2 separate regions of the Homo sapiens genome follow, and region 1 is linked to region 2. The links are contacts of gene promoters, found by promoter capture Hi-C in blood cells and fetal thymus (Javierre and others, 2016). All regions are on one chromosome and are shown on one strand. The core of a region is centred on a gene start or on the middle of the fragment in contact, and the rest is flanking DNA. Distances in the headings are between cores, read along the strand shown. Region 1 overlaps RNF145 (ring finger protein 145). Region 2 holds the start of ADAM19 (ADAM metallopeptidase domain 19).

Region 1 (7,686 bases), core at 771-3,270, 1.6 Mb before region 2:
GAAATACAGGTATTTGAACATCTGAGATTTCTTGTACCAAGTGGTGCTTCTTGTTGCCCATATTGCAAAAGATAACTTGGCACACCTCTTTTGTGTGAAAACAGGTTAGGTTTCTTTGGAATTAACGTTGTTTGAAAGCTTTAAGTAAATAGCCAGAATGTACAAGTTGTTCCTAGGTTGTCCAGTGTCTGAGTCAGGTCGCTGAAGAGACTGTTATAATAAAGGTCTTTAATTAGCTGAAGTGGTAAGCTACTAGGTTTTGTTCTTGGTACCCATTTATTTTTTGTAACATGTATACTTCTCTTTATAAGCAAGAATTTTTCTAATTGCAAGCTCTGAGGCCCTTTTCTTTTTCTTTCTTTCTTTCTTTTTTGAGACAGGGTCTCACTCTGACCCAGGCTGGAGTGCAGTGGTGCAATCTTGGCTCACTGCAACCCCTGCCCCTACCAGGTCCACACAATTCTCCCGCCTCAGCCTCCCAAGTAGCCGGGACTATAGGCATTACCACGCCTGGCTAATTGTTGTATTTTTTGTTTTGTAGAGTCGGAGTTTCACCGTGTTGTCCAGGCTGCTCTCGAACTCCTGGGCTCAAGTGAGCCGTCTGCCTCGGCCTCCCAAAGTGCTGGGATTACAGGCTTGAGCTACCATGGCCGGAGGCCCTTTTCATAGATCTTGTACATTCCTTGTGGCCCCAGTTTGAGTTAAAAGAGGGGAGGCTGTTATACAGGACTAGGGACGTAGATTTTTCAGTTTATTAGTGCCTTGGGGTGATTATCAGCCTTCCACAAGTGAAAAAACATTTAAGAAGGAAAATATTTTATTCAGTTATAAGTAGATTGGCAGGAATTCTTGTTTCTGAAGATATTAAAACATTCTACCTTTTAAGTCTTCTGAAATGAAAAATTGTAATGCTTCTCTTGAATAGCTCACCTGAGTCTTAAGAGAATCATATGTTGTTGTTAAAAGTTAGAATTTTATGACTCTTGCCTTGAACTAATTTTTCACCTAAAATGACTCATGGAATTTTGGATAATTCCCACTTTGGATCCTTCTTATTTAGGCTTACTGTCTTGTTTTTCTTATGTTGTGAATGACCATCCCTGTTAGGACTGATTTACCAAGAATTCTCAATGCCAGCATGAGATACCTGGAATTTGTGCATAAGTAAGATATAGAGATTTTTGTTAACCCTGATTCTTATTTCAGTTATTCTCTACAGTTTGGGATGGGATGCCCAGATCCTCCTTTTAGAAGTGACAGCTCCATAGTGGTTGTGTGGCATACTAGGTAGTTTAGCTGTCACCAAAACTACTGCCTTGACTCTGGCATGCTAAGCTGAGCTGGCCTAAAGAGAGAGTCTGCAGGCTTTCTAGGCCTGGCTGTTTTTACTGAGGTGGGGCTTTTTGGTGAGTCAGCCAAATGGAGGATTTTGGAGGACTGTATTGAAAGAGAGGAATCGAGCAAAGGGGAAACGTTCTAAGGGGCCTAGGGATGATACTAATTTTGAGGCTATGATGAATGATACAGACTTAAATTGAACAGGAATGTGGGGGGCAGTACAGTATTGGAGAGCTAATCCTGGGATCCTAGAGGAGGACAAAGTAAGGAGAGCGAGTGGGAGGAAACCACTTAACATCAGGGCTGTCATTGTGGCCTAAAGGTTGATCATTTATTCTTCTGGAATGCAGACCTCCCTTAGGGTCCTATAATCACAGCAAATCGCAAAGTAATGAGTATAGAGAAAGCAAAAATAATTAAAAAGAAAATAATGGAAAGGATTACAAAGTTAAGAGAAGGCTTAAAAAAGGAATGAAATATAGGGTTGGATAAAAGAAAAGGAAATAGTTAAAACCTTTTATAATAACCATATGAAATAGGAGAAGTAAAATAAGTAGTATTTAAGATAAAAAAGTAAAAGGCAGATAGAAATATTATTAGTTAAATGAAAAAGTTAGAACCTAGAAATAGAGAATAAAAGATGTAGTTTTTAAATATGCTGTGAATTTAAAATCTTTTTATGTATCAATAAAAAAGACGTTAAAATCCTCACAGCATTCTGTATTTTTTCTTACAGCACTGATCATCATCATAATTAAATAATTATAGGACTAAGTATTTATCTCCCCTCCCTGTTTATAAGTTGCGTGCTAGTATGGAATGTGCAGTATTAGCAGAGTCTAGCAGAGTGCCAGCACTTATGTATTCAGTAATTTCTTTTTGAGTTAAAAAGCAACAGAGAATGTTAGTTATCCCTAGAAATTTTGTTGTGTGAAATTAGAATTTAAGGTAAGAAACTCTAAAGAAAGACAAAGTTTTTAAAAAGAGGATAAACTAACGTAGGCTATGAAAAAATGCAGAACAATTAACAAATGTCTCAGCAATCAAATTCTAGCATAATGTTTAGTTTGCTGAGCTTTATTATAAAATATCAATAATATGTGACAAAACCAAACAGTGGAAAGAAAACATGGTAGGGACCTCAATTCTTCTGTCTTTTCTTGTCCCTCACAAAGAGACACTTGGGACTGAGGCCCTTCTGGGGCACTTTGTGGCTTTCTCCTTGGGGATAGTGCTCTTGGAGCTGACCTCTCTCCCTTTTCTAATGTAAAATTCGTATAACATAAAATTAATCATTTTAAAGTGAGCAGTTCAGTGGCATATAGTACATTCATAATGTTGTGCAGCTGTCACCTTTATCTAATTCTAAAACATTTTTGTCACCCAAAACAAAACTCAGTACTCATTAAGCCGTTACTCTCATCTCCCCTTCTCCCCAGCCCCTGGCAACCACCAATCTGTGTTTTGTCTGTATGGATTTTTCCTGGCCCCTGTTTAAACTGTATCCATTGGAGAGAGATATGCTATGACCAAAAAGAAATTATTGGGCTTTAAAGGTCTGGATAGTACTGACACTCAGAGTTGTATCTCTTTTAGGTATAAATTTATTTTTCAAATAGCATTTTAAAATACTTTGTATTAATACTATTTATATATGCATTTTGTTCTAATTTCATAATTCTTTTAATTTTTTAGTTTTCTAACTATATAATTCCATTGATGGTTACCTATAGTAATCAGATATTTATGTGTTATTTGCATTTGTGTCTTTCTACATGAAAACAGGGTTACTCAATATTGCACAGTTGACATTTTGGACTGGATGATTTTTTGTTCTAGGGGCTAGCCTTTGCATTGACGAATATTTAGCAGCATCTTTGGCCTTTACACACTAGGTGCTAGTAATACCTCTCCCCAATTGTGACAACCAAAAATGTTTCCAGAGGTTGTAGAATATCCCCTCAGGAGCAAAATTGCCCCTTGGTTGACAACCACTGCATTACAATAATTCTTCCTGAGAATTTGGCTTCCTCTTTCAGTAGAAAGAGACAATTAATACATTATGTGTTAGAAACCATCATCTAAGAGTGATAAAGGAGAATTGCTAGATCACCCATATAACTTAGTCATGCATTTTTATAATCTCAGAAACTGTTTTAATTCTTTTAACAATTTTTAGTTTTAAGTTTTGATTCTTTTTTGCAAATACCCTTCCGGCTGATTGTGTGAGGGTCTTTCCTTGTTTGGCTATGCAGTGCTAAAGGAATTCCACTTGATTGCCTAATGGGAAGTCATTTCATGGAAAAAGTAAATACAGCCATATGAGTTTGTTTGGAAATACTTGAAATGTTCTCTTTTAAATACAATGAATAAAGCATTAAAAGTTGAAAAAAAGGGAAGAATTTTTTTACACAAACTTCCCTTCTTTGATGCCAAAAATACTTTAGACAAACTGTCTTCCAGTACTCCCATGTAACTTACTGATAATAAACTAAATTCTCCCTGGTTGTGCTTCCTGCCTGTTTTCTGAGTGTGTAAAGGCTCTGGTTATTACTTAAAGCTTACTATTTCTCAGTAGTCACACGTTAAATGAGTTAAATTTTAAAAGGAATATTTTGTTTGATGTAAAATTTGCTTCAAAGTAAATATGTAGCCTACTTAAATATTATAATTATCTTAGATTTCATATAGAGTTGAAAATGATAATTTTTAAGGGTTGTACTCCTATCCCCCAGTTTTCTAACTAGTTTGTGGTTCTACTTGGGACTAATAAAATATAATCGGGGCCAAAACTTTGAGGGAAATAAGATGAGGGTGGGGTGATGGTGGTGGAAGATAGCCAAAAGAGATGTTTAGTGTAATATCACTAGATGTGATTGGTTAGTGTAGTAGAGTTGAGAGAGATCAGCTCTCAATTGGGTTTTTACTGGGCATAAAATATTTAATAAGGCCATGAAAAGAAAGAAAATTTCATAATGTGGAGCTTTGGCAGCTTTCTCTGTATGGTAAAATTCCATTTCAATAAGTTGTGTCTGTTTCTAGTGCACAGAAAACAGAGATGAAGGCCATTTATATATAATTCTTCATATCTAAATTTTTCCTTAGATATGGAAAGGGGTATCATTAACATAATATGCTTTTATAAGCATATTGTGATTCCGCTAGGAATGTATCTAATATATACATTCTAATCAATTTTCTTATTTAGGGACTATGTTCGGAGTGAACTGGAGTTTGCCTATGAGGGACCAATGTATTTAGAACCTCTCTCTATGAATCGGTTTACCACAGCCTTAATAGGTAAGTATTATAAAAGAATTAAAGTGTAGGTAGGAACCGACCAGTCTTACTAACTTATAAAATTCATGCATACTCATTTTTTTTTAAAACGGAATTCTCAAAAGTGATTCATGGGGACTTTTCCCACATATACCCATTGTTTGGTGGTTTTTTTTTTTTAAGTCTTCTTTTCCCCATGTATAGATTATGTATTTATAGTCATATTGTACATAGTGCACAGTTGCTTGTGTTTTTTTAAGGGTTTTTTAAGTATTTGAGAAGATTAATTTTTAAATAGAGCTAATTATTACTTTGAAAGATTAAAATGAAACACGTAGTATCTTAAATTTACTTATTGCTGTTGAAAGCCATGACCTTATTGTCAAAAATGAATGTCCGGAAACATCAAGAACTTGAGATGTGATTGAAATATTCAGGTAGCAGAATGTTAAAAATAGAAGTGTTGGCTAAGGCCTAAAAACAATATAGATACAATTTAAAGTGAAGTACCAGACCCCTGCTACCAGAGTGTACCATGCCAAAATGCAAAAAAGGAAGTAAGAGAAAACCTGTTTTGTGACTTTGAAACTCACCCATGTAGAAGGTGTTAACAGGCCTAATATTAGAGATTAGAGGAGGATTTCTTCAGAGAGAACTCTTTTTTTCTGAAATACTTCCCCAGCCCTTTACACTAGAGGATTCACTGGGGGACCATTTGGGGAGTTATGTGTCTTGTGTGGTGAAGGGGGGAATGCTGTGGACTGGTGTCTGACTCACCCTGGAACATCTTTTTTTTTTGAGTTACACTTTTATTTTTATTTTCTTACATTAAAAAACTTTTTTTTTTTTTTTGAGACAGAGTCTTGCTCTGTCGCCCAGGCTGGGAAAACATTTTTTAGATAAGTTTCTGGGGGAACACATGGTGTTTGGTTACATGGACAAGCTCTTTAGCAGTGATTTCTGATATTTTGGTGCATCCGTCGCCTGAGGAGTGTATGCTGTACCCAATGTGCAGTCTTTTATCCTTCACCCACCTCTCACCTTTCCAGGAGGCCAGAATTCCACTATATCATTCTTGTGCCTTTTCAGCCTGCAAAATCTAAAACTACATTGTCCAAAACTAGCCACATGTGGCTGGTTAGCACTTGCAGTGTGGTGAATTGAGATTAAGGTGTGCTGTATGTGTAAAGCACATACTCAATTTTGAAGACTTGGTACAAACCAGGTTAACTTTTAATACATCTTGTTAACTTTTAATATAGATTGAATGTCTATATGATGATGTTTAGGATATGTTAGGTTATATAAAATATATTGTTGATTTCACTTGTTTCTTTTTACTTTTTGAAATGACACTAATAGAAAATTTAAAATTATATTTGGCTTACATTATAATTCTAATCTGATATAAAGGACTAGCAATAGACTAGTTGCTTGTTGAGTGTTTTGACTGTGGAATGAAAATGCCTTATAGGGTTTTCCTGTATCTTCTGATACAGGAAATTGTAGAGCAAAGGATGTAAGTTTCTTGTGAACTAGACAGTGGCCCCGAAAGTCTGTGTAGGATTTTCTTGGGTCCTGTTCAAGAAGGCCTTTTAGATGGATGAGAAGACCTCAACAGGGATTGACCTTCCAGATTCCCAGGAGCTGAGAAAAGAGCCAAAAATGGCCAGTTGAGGGTGTATACCAAGCACCAAGGGTACTGCTGCAGGTGAGAGAGCCACAGTGATAGGAACGGTTTCAGAAGAACCCATAAAAGGGTCCAGGGGAAAATAAATCAGTTTTAGATACCTCAAGTCTAGGAAGCACCAGTAACAACCACATCATTGTAAGAGTCCAGTTAAGTAGGAACCTGCCTACTTCCCTCCCTCTCCTTCTTCCCTACCCACTTCAATCCTTGGTAAGTCAGAGAGAGAGGGAGAAGTGCTAGGTCAAAAAAGAGAAAGAAGCCAGCCACAACCTCCCCACCTTCTCTCCCACTTGCAGGTTTTCTATCTTAAAGCATAAAGGTAAAAATTAATGCTTTCCCTAGAATGCCTGAACTCTAGAGTAAGGGATAAGTCTCAACTTTAAATCTGTTTGAAAGTTTCAGTTATTATTAAATTGAGACAGTAACCTAAGCTAGAGTAGAAAAGTTATGGGACTTGCCTTGGATTTTATCTAGGGGCAGGAAAACCACTAATCTCTACAGAGTGGATTTTAAAAGACAGCAGAGGACAAAAATAATGTTGCTTTATGACTATCGTTATGAGTTGGCATATTTATTAACGGTAACATTCAATAATGAAGATATTTGCCAAGTTAGAAAGCTTGTAAAGTTTTAGTTTATGATGCATATACTTGTATTATAAATATGAAGCATATTTCTTAAAACTCTTCTTATCAGTGGCCATGGTCTTCTGTTTACTTAACTAAGATTCAACTTTCCAAAGTCCATAAACTATTAAGGAGCATGTTTTCTTCCAACTTAGATTTTAAAATAATTTTCTGGTGTTTTTCTTCATTTCAGTAACAAACTTTTTTGAAAAACTAGGTAATTTTAATATGCCATGATTTCTTAGGGTTGCCAACCTCTTGGAGATATTTCTAATAGTGGAATCCTGAAATCTAAAGAGTACATTGGGATTTTGGTTTATGCAGAGTTAAAAGTTGAAATAGGCAAATCAGAAGACAAACAACTTATTCTTTTGGAACTTCAGGGGAAATTCCACTAACAATATGACTCCTTCCTTCTTTTACGTCAGCAGGAGTAGTCTTCTCTTAAATACGCCATATGAGTCATATTCTTCTATGAAAGAAGATAAAGGGAGCCTGTAACCCCAGCACTGAGCACCACATGTGCTGGCATAGACTTAAGGGAATTTTCAGAGCTTAGAGGAAGTTTACATTGTGCTCAACAAGGACATTTAAATTTCATAGCTATAAACACAGTGAAAGCCAGATCATTTGGTGGCCTCTTGTTTTCTATATAATTAGGAGTTTTTCTTTTCTTTATGCCTTTATGATTATTTTTCACATTACTTTAGTATCAGTTTTTTAAAGGCCAAAATTAATGCTTTGTGAGATAAA
Region 2 (6,916 bases), core at 3,760-6,259:
AGAAGTGAGTTTGGAACCGGGTAATCGGTAGAGGCTGGATGAGCTTTGAGGTGCATGCTAGAAAAAGCCAAGATTGCTTTGAAGGACTGTTGATGGAAGTGTAGATGTTAAAGGCGATTCTGGCCAGGGCTCAGGAAGACAGGAGGAGAGCTATAGAGAAAGCTTCTGTCATCTTAGGGAATGCATATATCACCAGGAACAGAATATTAGTAGAAATATGAATATTAAGAGCTATTCTGGTGAGGTCTACGATGGAAATGAGGAACATGTTATTGGAAACTGGAGGAAAGGTGATTCTTGTGCAGGGGCTAAGGGAAAACTTCCCCTTTGCCCTCTGAAGTTTCAGCAAAAAATCAACTCACAAAAGGCAGATTAACTGGAGACAATGCATACAAATTTATTAGCATGCATGGGAGAGAATCACAGAGTGATTGTCCAATATCCCATTGGGGTATGGACGTTTATATACCCTACTTCTTAGGGGAAAGGGAGATAGGGGAGTGCGGATGATTTTTGGGGGATAGTACTTGATTTTTAGGGGAATTCAGTGGGCTTGAAGAACATACAATGGCCTAGGACAGAGTCTTTTGGCCCACAGACCTGACAATGGTTTGTGACAAAAGTCTGTTCAGGTGTATTGACAGACTTCAGTCTTCCTGCGATATGAATGCAGTTAATGAAAACACAGGGAAGGCACCCGAGACTGTTGTCTTCTTTGGCAGGTCCAGACTTTAGGCACATAAGGGAACTTCAGAGAACAACTTCATGCTGTGCTTTGGGAGAGACAAAGGATTGAGAGACAGGAGAGTGTGGGGGAAGGTCAAAGAGACCTTAAGACTTCTTTAGTTTAATGTGTCAAAGTGCCATATCTTGGGATATTGGTTTCTGAACCCCAATACTACTTACAACGTGGCAAAGGGTTCAGCTGAATTGCTGTGATATTATGATACATATGTATATTGGTTTTAATCCACGGTTCCTGGCTCATATCTCCCATAGCCCTTGTTATAGTCTTTTGTTATGATGTTGGGGCACTTTAGGCCTCAGAAACAGGTGTCAGGAAACAGAATCTGACCTTCTTCTGCCCTTCTTTCACCTGCCTACAGCAGGACTATAATCTAATTGTGAGTCATAGACCCTCATTGCAGAGATGATCCTGGCCTATACTCTTTATTTTTTACTTTTAAAGTATAGAATGCATCATGAATTTTCATGTCATCCTTGCACAGGAGCCAGGGTAATCTCTGTATCTTTCCAATTTAATAGACGTAGTGCTGAAGCAAGCTGCCACATACTGTTGAGGAAGGAATGTTGCACAGAGAGGTCAAGAAGAATCTGAAGACACAGGCCTTGCTGGGTTCATGTTAACAAGTGCTTCTCCGAGTTCTGTGAGCTGCTCTGGTAAACTAATTGAACCCAAAGAGGTGTCCTGGGAACCCCAACTGGAAGCCAGTTGGTCAGAAGTTCTGGAAGAACACACGTCTGGTGTCTGAAGGGGGCCCAGTCTTGGAAACTGAGACCTCAACCTGTGGGATCTGATGCTATCTATAGTGTCTAAATTCACTGCTGCTTGGTGTGTGGGGAAAGCCCCCACATCTTTGATCACAGAAGTCTTCTCTGTTGATTGTTGTTGTGTTGAGTGAGAGAAGAGGAAAAAGCACTTTGAGTTTGTGTTTTCTCCACCACCAATTGTGTTCTAGTGTTTTGTGGAAAGTAGAAATTGCAAGTGATGAACTTAAATATTTAGCTGCAGAGATTTCCAAAGTGTTGAAGATGAGGCCTGGCTTCTCCTCGGTACTTATGTAAAATGTGAGTGGATGGAGATAAATGGAAGGAATTGCTAAGCAAAAAGGAAACAGAACTTGAAGATTTGGAAAATTATTGGCCTATTCATATTGCAAAAAATAAAAAAGGATTTTCTGGAGAGGACACTAAGGGTGTGGCTGGACAATAACCCATGGAGCTAGTCAGCCATCTCATTAGAAGTCAGAAATAGAGATGGGTTTTACCAGCAAAGACATTGCCAATTTAGACCAAAAGGAATAAAGACAGGATGAAACAAAGGAAGGCTTTTAGAATTTTGTTCTACGGGACAGGACAATACAGCTCGCTTCATTCTTTAAGAAAAATGATTCACAGATCATCAGGGTTGCCACTCCCACCACAGCGGGCTGTTGGGGAGGCAGGGAGTGAAAGGGTGGAGTCTCCTTCTCTTGAGCAGGCCAGGCTGCCCCTGCCCAGTGCCTTGGGGTGGGGGACTGTGACAAAGAGCTATGGTGCTGGCCACTGCCTGGTGCTGTGGGGGTGACACTGCTGACCCAGTGGGCCTACAGGGCAGAATATCCAGCCAAAGAAGATTGTTGTAGAGCATTAAGATCTGATGGAATTTGCCTTGCTAGGTTTTGCACTTTTGGGGACTGTCACCTTGTTCTTTTCAGTATCTCTCTTTTGGAATCAGCACGTCTATCCTATGCCTTTCCCACCACATTGTATTTGGAAGCTGAGAGGAATTTTGCCTCAGGATGAAACAAACTTCAAGTCTCACCCATATCTAATACAGATGAAATTTAGATGACACTTCAGACTTGGAATTAATGCTGGAATGAGTGAAGACATTTGGGCTGCTGGGATGGGGTGGATATATTCTGCACGCGAGAAGTGTGAAAGGAAAATAAATCTTAGGACTCCCAAATCACTAAGCCAAGGAAAAAGTCAAGCTGGGAACAATGTCAGGCAAACCTGTCCCCCATTTTATTCTTTTCTTCTTTTTTTTTTTTTTTTTGAAATAGAGTCTCACTCTGTCGCCCAGGCTGGAGTGCAGTGGCGTGATCTTGGCTCACTGCAACCTCCCCTTCCGAGGTTTAAGCGATCTCCTGCCTCAGCCTCCTGAGTAGCTGGGATTACAGGTGTGCCACCACGCCTGGCTAATTTTTTTTGTATTTTTAGTAGAGACAGGGTTTCGCCACATTGGTCAGACTGGTCTCGAATTCCTGACCTCAGGTGATCTGCCCGCCTTGGCCTCCCAAAGTGCTGGGATTACAGGCCTAAGCCACAATGCCAGGCCACCATCCTATTCTTAAATAAGATAGCTACAAAGAGAAACAGCTACATACCTTCCTCACAATTTTCACACAAGGAAATTCCTTGTGGACAAAGGACAGACAGAATTTAAAGCCATCCCTCTGAGGCTCACCGGAAACAAATGCATATCTGATTGCTTCTTCTGCCCTATTGTTTATGTAAAAATGTAGATTCACTGAGCTAGACTAAATTGTGTATTCAGTGGAAGGTTGATCAAGGACTCAAAAGAATGTAACCTCTTCTGTTTCTTATCTACTTATAACCTGGAAGCACCACCCTTTCTGCAGCTTGGAGTTGTCTTGCCTTACCGGACCGGAAGCAATGTACATCCTACACATATTGATTGATGTCTCATGTCTCCCCAAAATATATAAAAGGAGGCTACACCCCCACCACCCTGGGCACATGTTGGGACCTCCTGAGGCTGTGTCATGAGCACGTTCTTAAGCTTGGCAAAATTAACCTTCTAAATTGACTGAGACCTATCTCAGATATTTCGGGTTCACAGAAAGATACGAATTTTACAGCAGCTGGAGACTAACGGAGTCCCAAACGACATTAATGGCCAGAACCACTTATTTGATTTCCCTCATGGGTGCCCATGAGTAGGGTTTGATAGACCTACCTACCCATCATCTTCAGGAGTGCCTCGCCCTCTCCAACACTTAGCACTTCTCTAGTCAACCTGGGTTTGACTAAAGAGGCTCAGAAAAAGGAACAGATGGACGAGGTTTGAGGCTGGGATTCTACAACGAGGCTTTGCTAAAACTTGCTGAGGGATCTTAGGCAAGTCATTTCTCTCTCATTATCAGTTTCTCCACCTGGAAAATAAGGTGTGTTGCATCAGGCTCTGGAGTTATACGGATGTGGGTTTGAATCTAGGCACTGACATTAGCTGTGTAATCTTGGGCAAGTGGTTTAGCCTCTCAGGTTTGATTTCCTCATTTCTAAAACAGGGATAGTACTAGTACCTACCCCATGGGATTACTGGGCTAATGAAAAGAGATAATGTATGCAGAGTCCCTGGCTCATAAAAGTTATTTTCTCCGATTAATTAAATAAGTGAATATGTGTAAAGTGCTGAAGACAGCGTTTGACACTTAGCGTTTTATCAGTCTTAGCTATCATGATTTTCTTATTCTAGTACATAGAAAGTCCTCAATAAGTAACAGTAGTTATTATTATTTTTGGTCACATGTCCCTGTGTTTCCCTCCAAAACCCTAACCATCCCCAATTCTGGTTTTCTCCCCGCATGCAGCCCAAGGGTTTTCACGTCCCAGTGCGATTGTCTGGGCTGTTTCCTCCGCCTGATGTTCCATTTCTCCTCCTCCCGATCTCAGATGGCTTCTCCTCTGGGATTCCTCTGGTCTTCATCACTCCCTCCTCCCAGGCAGAAGGAATGGCTCCTGGATTTGTGTCCTGCTTAAAAAAAAAAAAAAAAAAAAAAAAAAAAAAAAAAAAAGAAGTCCATATAGCACTTAGTTCTTTGTGCCTGGCGGTTGGGTTAACTCTTTCTGAGCCTGTCTCCGAGAGTGGCGGCCCCCGGGGGACGGCGCTGGGTGAATCACCTCTGAGTGTCACCCAAGGCGTCTGGCACAGTGCGGGACAGTAAACGGGCCGCTGTGCGGAGAGGGGTCCAGTTTAACTCCTAGAAGCCCGAGTCCCCGACCCTCTACAGGCCGCGTCCACCACAAATCCCTCCTCCTGGGGGGCTCGGATTCTCCCTTCCCCGCGGTCTCCCTCACCTGAGCCAGCCCCGCTCCCCCGAGTCTCGCCAGCTCCTCCCCGGCCCCTCCCTCCAGCCCCCTCCGGGCTGGAGCCTCCCCTCCTCCATCCCCTGGCGGAGGCCCGCGGGGCTGGAGGCGGAGCGTCTCGGCAGAGGGCTGGGAGCCGGGTGGGGAGGCGCGGGGCGAGCCGGGGGGTTCCAGACGCGCCTCCACCGCCGGGCAGTGGGCAGGTATGGCTGAGGGCGTGTGAGCGCCGAGCGCTAAGGGCCGCCGCCACCATGCCAGGGGGCGCAGGCGCCGCCCGGCTCTGCTTGCTGGCGTTTGCCCTGCAGCCCCTCCGGCCGCGGGCGGCGCGGGAGCCTGGATGGACAAGTAAGTGGCCAGGCGCGGGGGGATGGAGGCTGGGTGGCCCGGAGACCTGGGAGTAGCCTTGCGGGTCCGGAGCGCTGGGACCGCGACCCCTGCGCCTCCCGCAACTCCGCGGGGCCTGCGCCCCCGCCGTCCCCAGCCTGGGAGCCCGGGCTTTGTTCCCACGTTCTGCGCCCTGGGAGGTGGCAGAGGTCGGGGAAACCCGGCGCAGCCAGAAAACAGCCGGTCCGCTCACTGGCTAGCCTTCCCTTCTCGCCTTCTCCTTCCTCTGTTTTTCTGCTTTTGGCTTCTCTTTCCGCCGTTCTCGGGGCTTATCCTCCTCCGTTTTCTCACGGTCCCTCGTGTCCGCTCCGCCTCTCTCTCTGTCTTTCTCTCTACCGCCCGCTGCACTCGCCAACGCCGAGCATCCCGAGCGCCCTGCCCGTGTGGCCTGGGAGCGGCTTCCTGGGACCAGGCTCGGTGCCTGCCACACTGGTGGGGTAGGACATAAAATGCCCGCGGCAGACTGTGGTAGCCTTGGCTAGGGGATGGCTCGCTGGGTATCTGCAGCCACACACTTCGGATCCCCGAGCTGGCAGGAGCCCTACTGAAGGCCAAGTCAAACGCACCCATTTCACAGATGGGGAAACCGAGGCCCACAAAAGGGAAAGGACTTGCCCAAGGCCACGCCACGGGTTGAGGTCCGCGGTGGCACTGGAAACCAGGGCTCTCTTTCCACGCCAACCCGACGGCCGCCTTCTTTGGTCCTCAGTTTCCCCTTCTGTGAAGCGAAGGGGTCTGACTCGATGTTTCCAGCTAAGATGCCGGGTGATGTCCGTGTTTCTCAGGACTAGTTTCCCAGACACCAATCCCCTCCCCGGCTCCATCCCTCGGGGGCTATAAGCAGATTTCGCGGAAGGCTTGGTCCCGGGGGGCGGTGCCCGGGTTCTCTCATTATGACCGGAGAAGGCTTAGCCCTGGCTCCACCGCTGCAGACGGGCTGGGCTGACTCCAGACTGCTGCTTGGGGGACCAACAGTCAGCGTTTTCAAATAGAGCGAGCACCGGCGGAGCGAGGGTGGGCTGGCTGGACCCCCGGGCCGCCTCAAACCCAGAGGCTGAGAGCTCTTCCGACAGTTCGGAACTTCCAGGGGCCGAGGTCGGGCGGTCCTCCCAAAGGGCTCAAAGGAACCGCCCTTTGAGCTGTTGTTCCGAAGGGGAAACTGAGGCACAGAGGAGGTTCTAGGGTAGCACCAGGCCTGTGTCAGTGCTTAGTGCAGGAGAAAAGCATGAAGAAAGACAAGGAAAGCTAGTTACTGCTCCTAGCACAGGCGCCTTCTCTGAGTTTTGAGTCCTTGGAGAACACTTGCTGTAGAATATCTGGGAAATAACGAAAAGTGTAAAAGAAAATGATCTGCAACCCCCAAATCCACAGTTGCTGTTGATATTTTGTTTTTTTTCCCCTCCACATTCTTTGTGTGTTCCTATGGATATATATTGATAAAATTGGAACCATACCCATAAGTACAGTTTCGTGTCTTGCGTTTTTCACTTCACACCATGAGCGTTTTCCACATCATCAAATTCTCTGTAAAACATGATTTTAATGACTCTATACAAAGTTTTCAAAAGTTAAAAACACGACTCATACAAATGTGGCCAAGATTTATTCAACTCATTAATGAGGTAGCAAACAGGAGAGTAAAGCTGATTCAGGGAGCATTAGAAAGGGGTGATACAAGCATTGGAGAAAGAATGTT

Evidence for each region. The method cuts DNA at HindIII sites, captures the fragments that hold promoters and counts their contacts. A CHiCAGO score of 5 or more calls a contact.
Region 1: a contact is called between a fragment that was not itself captured here and the fragment with the promoter of ADAM19 in region 2, in 1 of 17 cell types (neutrophils). The highest score is 6.8, in neutrophils.

Annotation. Positions count from the first base shown.
Region 1 is chr5:159,178,912-159,186,597 of GRCh38, reverse strand. It overlaps RNF145 (ring finger protein 145), which reads left to right. Exons shown (of 11, transcript NM_001199383.2): 4 at 4,547-4,638. Among named protein-coding and RNA genes, the nearest start is that of RNF145, 27 kb to the left of the region's middle. The HindIII fragment of the contact is 3,760 bases long and covers 141-3,900 here.
Region 2 is chr5:157,573,868-157,580,783 of GRCh38, reverse strand. It overlaps ADAM19 (ADAM metallopeptidase domain 19), which reads left to right and starts at 5,009. Exons shown (of 23, transcript NM_033274.5): 1 at 5,009-5,181. The coding sequence starts at 5,088. It overlaps LOC124901121 (a long non-coding RNA gene), which reads right to left and starts at 5,805. Exons shown (of 2, transcript XR_007059018.1): 1 at 5,414-5,805; 2 at 4,174-4,504. It also overlaps the pseudogene RNU6-390P. RefSeq lists enhancers at 1,763-2,377, 2,378-2,994, 2,995-3,610, 5,468-5,547, 5,784-6,313 and a silencer at 4,858-5,297. The HindIII fragment of the contact is 8,826 bases long and covers 3,532-6,916 here.